Regions from separate parts of the Homo sapiens genome. Here region 1 is linked to region 2. Evidence: promoter capture Hi-C in 16 types of primary human blood cells and fetal thymus (Javierre and others, 2016). All regions are on one chromosome and are shown on one strand. Each heading gives the region's core, a stretch centred on a gene start or on the middle of the fragment in contact. The rest is flanking DNA. Distances are from core to core; before and after follow the strand shown.

Region 1 (5,886 bases), core at 896-3,395, 480 kb before region 2:
TCCTTATATGAAGAGGGAAATTAGACACAGAGACACACAGAGGAAAGACAGCTATGTGAAGATGGTATCAGAGAATAGAGTGATACTGCCACAAGTCAAAGGATGTCAAGAATTGCTGGCAACCACCAAATGCTAGAAGAGTCCAGAAAGGATTTTCTCTTAGAGCCTTTGAAGGAAGTATGGCCCTGTTCTTCTTGATTTTGGACTTGTATCCTCCAGAACTGTGAGATAATAAACTCCTGTTGTTTTAGGCCACTCAGTTTATGGTAATTTGTTATGGTGGCCTCAAGAAACTAGTACAGTACCTAACTATCCACCTAGCATTAGGGCAGTATACATAATAGATGTAGCCACTCACCTCTTCGTGCTTACATTGTACAGGGCGGTTGGAGTAGGTAGACAATAAACACATATATTATAATATTTCATTATATTTGGTGATAAGTGCTAAGGAGAAACTGAATCCATTGTGATAGAGATATGAAGTGTGTGGGTGATGTTGTTTGCGTGTGTCTCCACCCAAATCTCATCTTGAATTGTAGTTCTCGTAATCCCACATGTTATGGGATGGACCCAGTGGAAGGTAATTGAATCATGGGGGCAGCTACCCCCATGCTGCTGTTTTCGTGATAGTGAGTTCTCCTGAGATCTGATGGTTTTATAAGGGGCTTTTGCTTGGCTCTTCCCCTTCCTGCCATCATGTGAAGAAGGACATGTTTGCTTCCCCTTCCACCACGACTGTAAGTTTCCTGGGGCCTCCCCAGTCATGGCAAACTGTGAGTCAATTAAACCTTTTTCCTTTATAAATTACCCAGTCTCAGGCAGATCTTTACTGGGTAAATTTATAAAATGAGAATGGACTAAGACAGTAGGGGACAGCTGTTATTTTATATGTGGTAGTCAGGGAAGGTATCTCTGGGAAGGGAATACCTGAGCAAAGACCTGAAGGATGTCATGGAGCAAACCACAGAGATTTTCAGAAGAGCATTCCAGGTAGAGAGAACAGCAAGTGCAATCGCCCTGAGAAGTCTGTGTATTTCAGGGTTTTCCAAAAATGCCAAAGAGGCCAATGTAGCCAGAACAGGCAAAAATGATGGGAAAAGAGATGTGTTGAGGAGGTGGATGCTCACAGATTATGTAAAGCTTTGTCGGTGAATGACCAAATATCCCGGTTTGCCCAGGAAAGGCTCAGTATAGAATGTTGTCTCATTGTAATTCTAAAAAATTGTTTGGAATCTTCCATTGGTAGCTTGGGCCAGACATTAGCAATAGAGGTGGTGAGAAATGATTGGATGTTGTATAAATTTTGAACGTAGAGTCTTTCCTTAGGAAAGTTACTTTGCTTCACTATTTGAGCTTCCTTTAGTAAAAAGTAAACATAATGTGTCTTCTAAAGACATCGTGAGATTTCATGTGTTGATGATGTATTAGCAATTTTGTAAACATATTTTAAATGGCACACATTAATGTATTAACATGGGAGGCAGCATTGATATAAAAACAGGTTCTTGCCAATTTGTTCTCTCTCTGATCAAGTAAGCTGCAAACAGTATATTTTGAACCTATTTTTTTGGTATTCATTGTAGTATAAATGGTTATAATGATTTTCAAGTGTGTTCTTCCTATCTAAACAATATGCATTAATTTGAAACAATGAAATTGCCATTTTTCTAAGTCAGAAATGTTCAAACATCTGCCATTTCTTATAGTTCAACATAATACAGTAAGAAAGGATTAACCAGGCAATAAAGAAAGAGGTTCAGGAGATTTGGGAGATATTCCCAGGGGATATCCCCAGAGGCTGAATGGTCCTGGAGAAATCATAAGCATCCTTGTGCTTGTTTTCTTATTTTCACTGTGAGGCTAATGAAATAAAATAAAATGGCCAATTAAAATTTGATAGTGTTTTGATAGTGTTGTTGTTGTTTGAGGTGGAGTGTCGCTCTGTCACCCAGGCTTAACTACAGTGAGACAATCTCAGCTCACTGCAACCTCCGCCTCCCAGGTTCAAGTGATTCTCATGCTTCAGCCTCCCGAGTAGCTGGGATTACAGGTGTGCACCACCACACCTGGCTAATTTTTGTATTTTTAGTAGCGATGGAGTTTTATCATGTTGGCCAGGCTGGTCTTGAACTCCTGGCCTCTGGCGATCCTCCCACTTCGTCCTCCCAAAGTGCTGAGATTACAGGCGTAAGCCACCACGCCCAGCCAAAGTTCGGCAGAGTGTTTAGTGATGCCCAAACACAAACACAATATGGTTTCAGATGAGTATTCCTTATTTTTCCAATCCACGTTAGACTTGGGGAAATAGCCCTTGTCCCCTTGATGATGGGCCCTTTAATGTAAGTAATATTGCAGCCTTGCAGAGGTACATTCTACTTGAATGGCTAGCTCATTTTTATATAATGCCCCAGGCCACGCAGGCTGCTTGGCATCTTTGTGGAACTACGCTTACTGTCCCATCAAGCCTGTTTAGCAATTATTGTGTGTCATTATTAAAATATTATTCTCTTATTGTGAAGAAAAGATACTAAAGCATGCTGTAGGTCAGTCATTTTCTAGTGACAGGGATTAGAGGACTAGAATCCATTCAATTTTTAAAACTTTACCTACGAATAGTTAGAAAATATATGCTTGAAATAATCTCATTCTAGTTTATTGTTATTGTTTATTTTCTAAGCCTTCTTTACAAATATATTTTCCCACTGTAATTCAGTTTAAATGGATGGTTTTTACTTCTTAATAAAATTATTGACTATTGATTTATATCTGATACAATCCTTTGTAGTATTCAATGCTGATGTTGAAAAAATTCAGCCACAATGAATAAGGAGTGTTCCCAAGGACCCTCAGACAAAAAAAGAAAAACAAAAGAAAACATGAAACTACCCCCAGGATCGGAATGAAAATGTATTTGCTCCTAACATCAGATGTCTTCGGTTTAGAATACTTATTTCAACTTGAAATTTTCTTAATTTGTAGACATAATCTTGACATCTGGGAATAAGAGATTTAGGACACTACTGCATTGCAAATGATGACTCTTTAGTGCAGTCAATGTTTTTATCTTAAAGAAAATGATTTTACCTTTCATGACAATAATAAATGTGACCTAGAAAAGTGTTCCTTAAATAATTCCAAGCTTATTATATTAATTAGCGAATATTAATTGATAGCAAACCTAATCATCTTTTCTTCTAATTTGGTCACGACTTCTGTTCCTTTGCAATCCTATTCTCACCCCATTTTATCTTTTATAAAAATACACAGAGGGTGTCTCTTTTTCACATTGGTAAATGTTTTAAATATCAGAAAGTTAATTTTCTCTATTTTTAACATAAGCAAATATTTTAATATAATCAATTATATTTAATACATTACATATAAAAACATCTACTATTTCTATTACTGGGCCTAAGATTACTATTTCTATCACTGGGCCTAAGACTACTATTTCTATCACTGGGCCTAAGATAGGTACATACTCAATATACAATTGAATTTTAAAGAAAAAATATTTACTAAGATAAAATAAAGAGTGAAATGCCAGAGTTCTTATAAATTGTTGCTACAAATTATATCATATGTTTAAAAGGATAACTTTAATGGAAAAATGGGTCTAGAGATACTTTTTTTTTTTTTTGAGATGGAGTCTCGCACTGTCACCTGGGCTGGAGTGCAGTGGCGTGATCTCGGCTCACTGCAACCTCCACCTCCCAGGTTCAAGCAATTCTCCTGCCTCAGCCTCCCAATTTGCTGGGATTACAGGCACCCACCACCACACCTAGCTAATTTTTTGTATTTTTATAGAGACAGGGTTTCACTATGTTGGCCATGCTGGCCTCAGTGATCCGCCCGCCTCGGCCTCTCGAAGTGCTGGGATTACAGGTGTGAGCCAACACGCCCGGCCCATCTTGGTTATTTTGTTCACAGTGTTGGGTGAAAGGGTTAAGTCATGACTAATTGCTATCATATGAATTTCTGCCCAGTGTTGTAATACAGAAATTTGGTGTTTCTCTTTAGACCATTTGATGTGGACAGAGAATGAAATGTAAAATATGCCTCTCTTCAGAAAGAAGACTTACGTTGAAAGAAATAAGCAGAATAGTGTGCCTATACCTTTTATACCTCTCCCAGGTGCATGAAGGAGGCTTCCCAACTGGTGGGATTCTTTGGAGAGCGATCAGTCAAGGAAAAGCCTCCTTTGATGGAGAATCCTCCAATGTCAGTCTCTGAAGATCTTTTCGGTGAAGCTCTGCTGTTCCTCCAGCGAGGAATCCTATGTTCTTTGGCCTGGAAAGTGGTAGGAAGAGTGTAGAGCCGGTTGCCTGGCTGCAAGAGAAGAAGCCTGGGAAAGCCTCACCCTTTTTGAACAGGGTCTCTCTCCTCCCCTCCAGCACTTCTGCTGTCATGTCACCTGGAGCATCTCTGGGCAATCTTAATAGAAAGTAAATCTTCCATATTCTGAAAGGGTACGAGAAGCAGCATTCACCTGGCTGCACAGGATTTAGATGAGGATCTGACTGTTAGCCCATTTGCCTCTACCTTCACTTCCAAGCTAGCAGTGCCTCCAATCCAGAATCCCCTAGGGTGCTACACTGTGACTTCTCTCGCTTCTCATGGTGCTCCTCTCTACTGCTGCTTTGCCAATTCCCCTACTTCTCTTCTCTCCTCTCCTCTCCTCTCCTCTCCTCTCTTCTCCTCTCATTTCGTTTCTTTCTAGACAGGGACTCACTCTGTCACCCAGGCTGGAGTGCATTGGCACGATCTCGGCTCACTGCAACCTCCATCTCCCGGGTTCAAGCAATTCTCCTGCCTCAGCCTCCCGAGTGGCTGGGAGTACAGGCGCCCACCACCACGCCTGGCTAATTTTTGTATTTTTAGTAGAGACAGGGTTTCGCCATGTTGACCAGGCTGGTCTCGAGCTCCTGACCTCGAGTGATCTGCCCACCTCGACCTCCCAAAGTGCTGGGATTACAGGCGTGAGCCACCGCACCAGGCCCCCCACATGCCTTTTTATCATCTACCAACTTGCTGACATTGCACACTAGCTGTTCTTTCCCTTTCTCTTTGACTTTGTCAGTTCGCATCTTTTAAACTTTTTCTTCACTCATTTTCTAGTGGGCTTTGTGAGAAGGAAAAAATTAAATTCATGTGTTCAATCAAACCAAAAGTCCCCAACTCCTTCTTAACTCTTACCTTCAAAACTATACTTAGCCCATTGTTTTCCAGTAAAAGAGGAAAGTATGTCAGTATAAACAGACTGTAGTTTAAAGCAAGGAAATTACATTTTTCCCTCTGAGAACGATTTTGCCTCCTGAGGAATAATTCCGTAGAAGCAACAACAGTTATTGGGGTCACCACAAGAATTAAATGCTAGGGATACCAAAATTAGCAAGGTGTGACCTTTGCTTTCAAAAATCTTACTCTAGGCAGTGGCTCACGCCTGTAATCCCAGCACTTTGGGAGGCCAAGGCGGGAGGATCACTCAAGCCCAGGAGTTTGAGACCAGCCTCACAACATAGGGAGAAAAAGACACAAGCTCCATAAGCAGAGACCAGCGTGCAGATTTTGACTACGCCACTTCCTTGATGTGTAACATTAAATAACTGATTAAAATGCTCCTGTGCCTTTCCACAGCATAACACAAACAGCACATTAGGATAGCGAAAAGAACCAGAGTCCTTCCTCTGTTTTTGTGATGAAACAGATTCAATTCTAGTTAACACTCAGTGTCATTCTGTGTGGTGAGAGGCTGGGAAAGTCTGGGAGAATTTCCTCGGCGACTCTAAGATTAGGGATGGCCTGCGGCTGCATCCGACTTCCTGGAGCTACTGAAGTCTGAACTCTGGTCTCATGAAAAATTCAAGGTTGATACATTTATAA
Region 2 (6,281 bases), core at 1,348-3,847:
TTCATTTTTTGAGGAAGCTCTATACTGTTTTCTATAATGGCTGTACTAATTTACAGTCCTGCCAACAGTGCATAAGGGTTCCCATTTCTTTGCCTCCTTGCCAGCATTAGTTATTGTTAGTCTTTTTGATCATAGTCAGTCTAATTGGGGTGAGGTGATAGCTCACTGTGGTTTTGATTTGCATTTTCCTAATCATTAGTGATACTGAGTATTTTTTCATAGACCTGTTAGTCATTTGTAGGTCTCATATTGAGAAATCTCTGTTCAGTTTTTTTTGCCCATTTTTAAATCAGACTATTTGGTTTTTCTGCTGTTGAGTTGTTTGAATTCCTTTTATATTCTGGATATTAACCCCTTGGCAAATGCGTAGTTTGCAAATATTTTCTCCCCTTGTGTAGGCTGTCTCTTTACTCTGTCGTTTCCTTTATTGTATAGAAGCTTTTAAATTTAATGTAATCCCATTTGTCTCTTTCTGCCTTTGCTGCCTATGCTTTTGAGTTCTTATCCCAAAAATCCTCGCCAAGACCAATGTCTTGAAGAGTTTCCCCTATGTTTTATTCCAGCAGTTTCACAGTTTTGGGAGGAGGCTATTTTAAAGCCTTGACTGTTCACAGAGTAAACACTCTTTTCATGCTGCCCTAGAATTTCCCTTTTGGCTGCTAGAAAAAGGGCAGAGCTGACTGCAATCCACTGAGTGCTTTTCCTCCACATCTTTGTTATAGGGCAAGGCCAACAGAGACATTGATACATTGCATCATTGAGTTCATAAAAATCCTGAAGAGAGGCCGCTTTTACTTTTTGCCAGGCAGAACCCCAAATGCAGCTCTGACCCTATCATACTGAGTGACTCCAGATGAGGCTGAGTTTATTCAGAGATGTGTTCCCTCCTCCACTTATAATATGGTCCATTTGGGTTTAATTACGCTGAATAGGATCGTATTGAGTTTGTAATAATTAGCAATACCATCCCTAAGGAAACAGGGTTTGGTCTCACTGCCAAATCAGAAGTTTGCCTTGCCTCAAGAGAAATATAAGTATTCTGGAAAAAGTCTTGCAAGTGTTTTTGATAAGAATTCAAATCTCCTCAGGCCATTGAATATCACAGGATTTTGGGAAAATGCCCAGTTAAAATCAAGGTTGTATTTTAAAATTCTGTTAGCAAAAGTATTTGCAACTGAATTATCTATGTGATAAAAGTTGCATAAGAAGAATTCTCTAGAAGACGTTTGGTAACTTGCAATCAAGTAGTTTAGGTCTTGCTTATGGTTAGGTGTCCCTAGAGATCTTTAAAGGCATTACCAACTCCCTCTTTAAAAAAATCACAAACACAAAGGTAGAGACAGTGCATTATTTTGACTCTCAAATTCCCTTTCCACTTCAACATAGTATAGGCTAGGCTCAATTCAGCGTTAAAGTTCAGTGGCTTTATGTGACAACAACAACGAAAGTGTTCTTTTCACTTCCAAAAGAATCAGCTGTGGCTTTCCAGAGTAGTTCTTCTAATAATGTAAACTAATGGTAAACTTGTTCTAATTGCCTCCCAAAGCAGTAGGAGGATGAAATGGTAGAAGACCTGTGAAAGAGGGATCTGGAATTTTAAAAATAAATTCAACACCGTATTAATTATTTGCTGGAAGGCTGCAATGTGTCCAGGTATTAGATAAAAAAACGGTAAGCAGAGTCTCTACGGAAAAAAAAAAAAAATCACAATCCAGCCTGAAAGATGAGTAAGAGCGAGGAAAAAATTGAACAGAACTATGTAGAATTCTATAAAATTTCACTTATGGTGGAGCATTGTACTCTTAGGGCTGCAAGAAAAAAAAAATGGAGGGCGTTCTTCCTCTCTTTGGCTTTTCCCAAGAGGCCTAACGCTAACAATGGCACCAACTACTGTTAATACCATCAATAGGGAAATGGTACCGCATAATGGATGCTTTGTATCTCTATCTCTCAGTTCAGTTGGAGCTAAATAAAGAGGGCAAATGAGCACCCAACACTGTGCCAGGGGAAAAGTGTCGCCTGCAACAGTGAAGTCGCAGGTGGATGTGAGATGCCTGACTTAGGAGCGCGCTTACCAAGGCGCTAACACTGCTGCTATTATTTCCACCCGCACCCCGAGCGCTATGCCGGCCGCGCCTGGGATGAAACACACACATTGAGCCTACAAGACCGTCCTGGGTCTAGAGTGTCTGTGGCAGCCTTCTTTTCTGCCCCACCCTGAAATCCTAGCTATCCCAGGACGCCCTAGAAGGAAGCCCAGGGACGGTGTGGAGCAGCCTGTACTCCCCATCTCTCTTCCAGGAGGCCACACCCAAAACAAGGCCCTCTTTGTGTCTCGGAGAACAGTGGCCGTATAGTGCTCCGCCGGCTGCCCCTGTTAAGAGAGAGCGAGCAGCCCTCGCCCCGGCAACCCCAGGCAGAGGCGCGTCGCGGCGGCGGCGCAGGTGGGCGCAGGCGCGGAGGTGGGCTCTCTAGGGCCGCGCGGGAGCCCCGGGTCCGCACGCCGCGCGCGGAACACCTGGGGGCGGAGCCAAGACCGCGTCCCGCCCACTCCCGGGCGCGAAGCCCCCTCCCCGCGCCCCTCCCATCGCGCCGCAGAGGCGCGCAGGTGCGTGAGGCCGCGCCCGCCCGGGACCCTGCAGACGTGGGCCAGCCATGGAGCACATCCGTACGCCCAAGGTTGGTGACACCAGCGCGGGCGGAGGAGGGACGGGAGGAGATGGGGGAGGAGGAGGAGGGATGCTGAGCGCGCGGGAGGCCGACTGCTTTGAGGGGCACCGGCGGAGCCTGGACCGCGGGCGAGGGAGGAGCAGGCATTGCCTGAGCATCCCGGGGTGCCTGCGAGCCCGGTCGTTCTCTTGCTGCCTCCCAGGCCTAGCCTTAGCTGCTGCTGGGTCTGACCTCTTGGTTTTGGGGGAGCGCAGTGGACACAAGGGTGAACGGGAGGGAACCTCAGTTGTCTGCTAGTAACTGGGTGTAGATCAACCCTTCTTTCTCCTGGCACGAGGCTTTCTCTTTTAGCTGTTGGCCGCTCAGAGTAGTTGAAAGGGAAATAAGCCTTTCGGTGACAGGTGCAAGGAAAACGAGCTAAATGCAGAGGGACTCCTGCGCTTGGAAGCTTGTTAAATCTAGGGTGTCAGGCCCACCCGGCTCGGCCTTCCCAGTCAGCATCCTCATCCTGAGCGTAGCAGCTGCAAGGGGCCTTACACAGAACGGATAATCAATATTCATTGTAGGTTGAATGATGGTGTGTTCTTGCCTTTTCCAGTCCGTTTTGTTCGTTAGAGAAAAGGATGCAGCTTACGGATTCGTCACGCACTGTTGTGTTTTAACAACACCAGCTTTTGCTAATTAACAAAAGCAAATGGTCCCTGATCACTCCAGTAAATTAACATTGGAAACGTTGATCGCTGTACCAAATCTTCCTCCTCAGTTGTACTGATAATCTAATTTAGAATGAAAATGATGATCGACGTTACTGCATGATAAAAACCCTAAACGAGTGAAAGAATATGCTTAAAAACCCTATTGGCTGTCTGTTGTTACTACCACCACAGCTCCTTGCGTTTTTGCAGGATGAACTTCCATTCAAAATGTAGGCCCCTGACAGGTCAAAGCTAGGTCAGAGTGGCCATAGCTCAGGTGGTTCCAGGGATCCCACACATTTAAGAGGGGTGGGGGCAATTGCTTTATGGCCAGCAAGAATTGATTCCTAAATTTTGGAATAGTTCCTGAGTACCTTTTTGTAAAAGCAGATTAAAATGATCTCATGTCATTGGAAGAAGAAATCTTTTAGTTTGCTGGAGAATGTCAGTTCCGACAGTAAATTTAAATTGTATTGATTTTGCACTAGGGAATTAAGTTGTCGCTTCACAATCATGAAATTGTAAACTTAGAAGACAATGCTACAAACCACAGAATAGGTGGCTCAAAGCTTTCAGAGTTTAAGTGGTACTAAATAATTTATTCCAGAAGGGTGAATTTAACTCATGGACTCTGCCCTTGCCAAGGGCATTCTTCCTCCTTCCATGATGAAGGGAGCCGTTTGTAAAAGTGATAGCTGTTGTGGATATTGATAGCAAGAATGATACAGTGACATGGCAGTGGATGCCACTTTGTTAGAGAATATGAATTTGGGGGAGTCAAGGCCTTTTCTGTTCTATATACAAAGCCACCTGGTACAAAGTCACGTGTGAACCTGAGTTGCAAGCAGTGTTCTTACTCTTAAAATTGGTGTTTATGGATACCCTCTAAGCAGTGCAGTACTTGAAGTCAGAAATCCTTATTTATCTGGAAATGGAAACAAATTGGGGGAAAATGGAAAATTGTCTGAAGTGTTACTGAATTGGGTGAGTCATTAACATTTGGGATAAAGCTGGTGAAAAAAATAAGAAATTACAGAGGTTGGATGGATCGGATTCATTTATTCATTTATTTTATTCTACAAGCATTTAGAACCTTTCATGTGCCAGGCTCTGTGTTAAGTGCTGGAAGCGTCCAGGAACTCACAATCTCTAAGGGGAGGCAGTTGTAAATATGTCAGTGTATGATAGAGACATGTGCAAGGTGCAGTGGGTAGAGAGGGAGACTGAAGAGAGGATCAGCTCTGCCCTCAAGGTCAAGGGAAGCCTTCTTAGAAGAGCCGTCTTAACATGGAAGGACTTAAGGAGGACTAGGAGCATTTTCAACAGTGGTCATGTACTTGTATAAATATATATTGTAATAAATAATTACAACCCTAAAGAAACTGAAAACAATAACAATGGTCAAAGATAAATGATTCCTTGAGGTTAAATAACATCCTCCTTTTGTTTTACATTTTTAAGGGCAAAATTAATTTTCACAGTCTAAATGAAAAAGAGAACAACATTACTTACAGAGCTTGCAGAGTTAAATATATAATTGTTACTGGTCATATTCATCTTTATTATTTGCTTCCATTATACTTGGTGAAACTATAGGTAAATTTCCTTCGATTTCATGGTTTCATGTCTTGGGTTTGCAAGGAGTGTATACAAAGTTTGTTTTTCTGGCCCACTGTGGGTTTATAGCAATATTTACTGTGTGGGTAGTAGAGTTTTAAGAGGAAAAGAATTGTATGCATGTATAATGTACAGTTGCTTTTCTGTTACAATGGAAGTCATTCACTCGCTGTAGACTGTGTAATATCCATGACAGCCTCTGTGTTCTGCTTTAGTCTCTGGAGTGCAGTTTAAGGAGACAGATGCACGTGCATAATCTGGAATGCTTTGCACATATTTCTTTCTAGGGGTGCATGTATGTTTAACTGAAGCCTTTAACAGAGCATATGCTAAGCAGAGTGCTTCCCTTCCAGAATGGTTCCTCTAGAGGGGAAAAAAAAGTTCCAAGGACAGGCTGGTTTGCAGTTGGGTTAAAGGGGGGACACCAAGTATTACCTGTACTCATCCCAGTGAACTTCTAGGTTTCTACTTCACTGTCTGGGTTTCCTTACCACTCTGAAAACTTGCTGGAAGCTTAGGCATAATTTGGGTTCAAGTGCTGCTTAATTAAATGAAAAGACTTCAGGGCTCCTGGAAGTAGCTTGAAGTGTTTGTAGGATTTAGTTTGGTACTAGATTGAGGCAAATGTGTCCAGGATCCTGGTAAGTGATTTCTACTTTATATGCTTTGGTCTTTCTGGAAGGCATTTTTCCCACATGTGTAAATTTGAGTTATGAAATAGAATACGTGATAACCTCCAAAACAGACCTTGCAAATGTCTTCTCTTCCTTGGTACACCTACCCCCTAGTCTGACCCTGACTGGTCTCCTGATTTATTTTTTTTTGCTCTTTTCTAATCCCTTTCTCACAGAGGGGCCTGGATGATGCTTTTATGTCTCAAATTGATCATGCTACTTCCCTGCTAAGTTTCCTAGGTGGCTTCCCTTTGTACCCAGGATATAAAGTGAGAATCCTCAGAACTGCTCGTAAGGCCCTTTGTAGACTGAGCCCTTCCTACTTCTCCAGCCTCGTTTTGTGACAATCATCTTCTTATCCACAACCCTCTGATCACAACTTGTCTTCACAGAGTTCTCCAGTGGGACCAGTTCTTTTCTGCCTCGGGACTTTTGCACTGCTGTTCCATCTGGGGGACGTTAGTTCTCACTCTTCACCTGGCTAAATACCTCATCTTTCTAGTTTCAAATTGTGATTTCTCAGGCTGTTGTCCAACTCCCCCATCTAAATCAGATCTGCCTGTTGTATTTTATCATAACACCTTGTGTTTTCCCCTTAGGTTCCTCATTACAATTGTTAAATTTA

Evidence for each region. Contacts are between HindIII fragments. The CHiCAGO score rates a contact against its expected background, and 5 or more counts as called.
Region 1: a fragment that was not itself captured here is called in contact with the fragment with the promoter of MTMR7 in region 2 in 1 of 17 cell types (endothelial precursors); the score reaches 5.0 in endothelial precursors.

The regions. Positions count from the first base shown.
Region 1 is chr8:17,885,592-17,891,477 of GRCh38, reverse strand. The region is part of intron 1 of FGL1 (fibrinogen like 1); the gene reads left to right. Among named protein-coding and RNA genes, the nearest start is that of FGL1, 7.0 kb to the left of the region's middle. The HindIII fragment of the contact is 1,999 bases long and covers 1,146-3,144 here.
Region 2 is chr8:17,409,667-17,415,947 of GRCh38, reverse strand. MTMR7 (myotubularin related protein 7) reads left to right here and starts at 2,597. Exons shown (of 14, transcript NM_004686.5): 1 at 2,597-2,679. The coding sequence starts at 2,656. The HindIII fragment of the contact is 2,680 bases long and covers 441-3,120 here.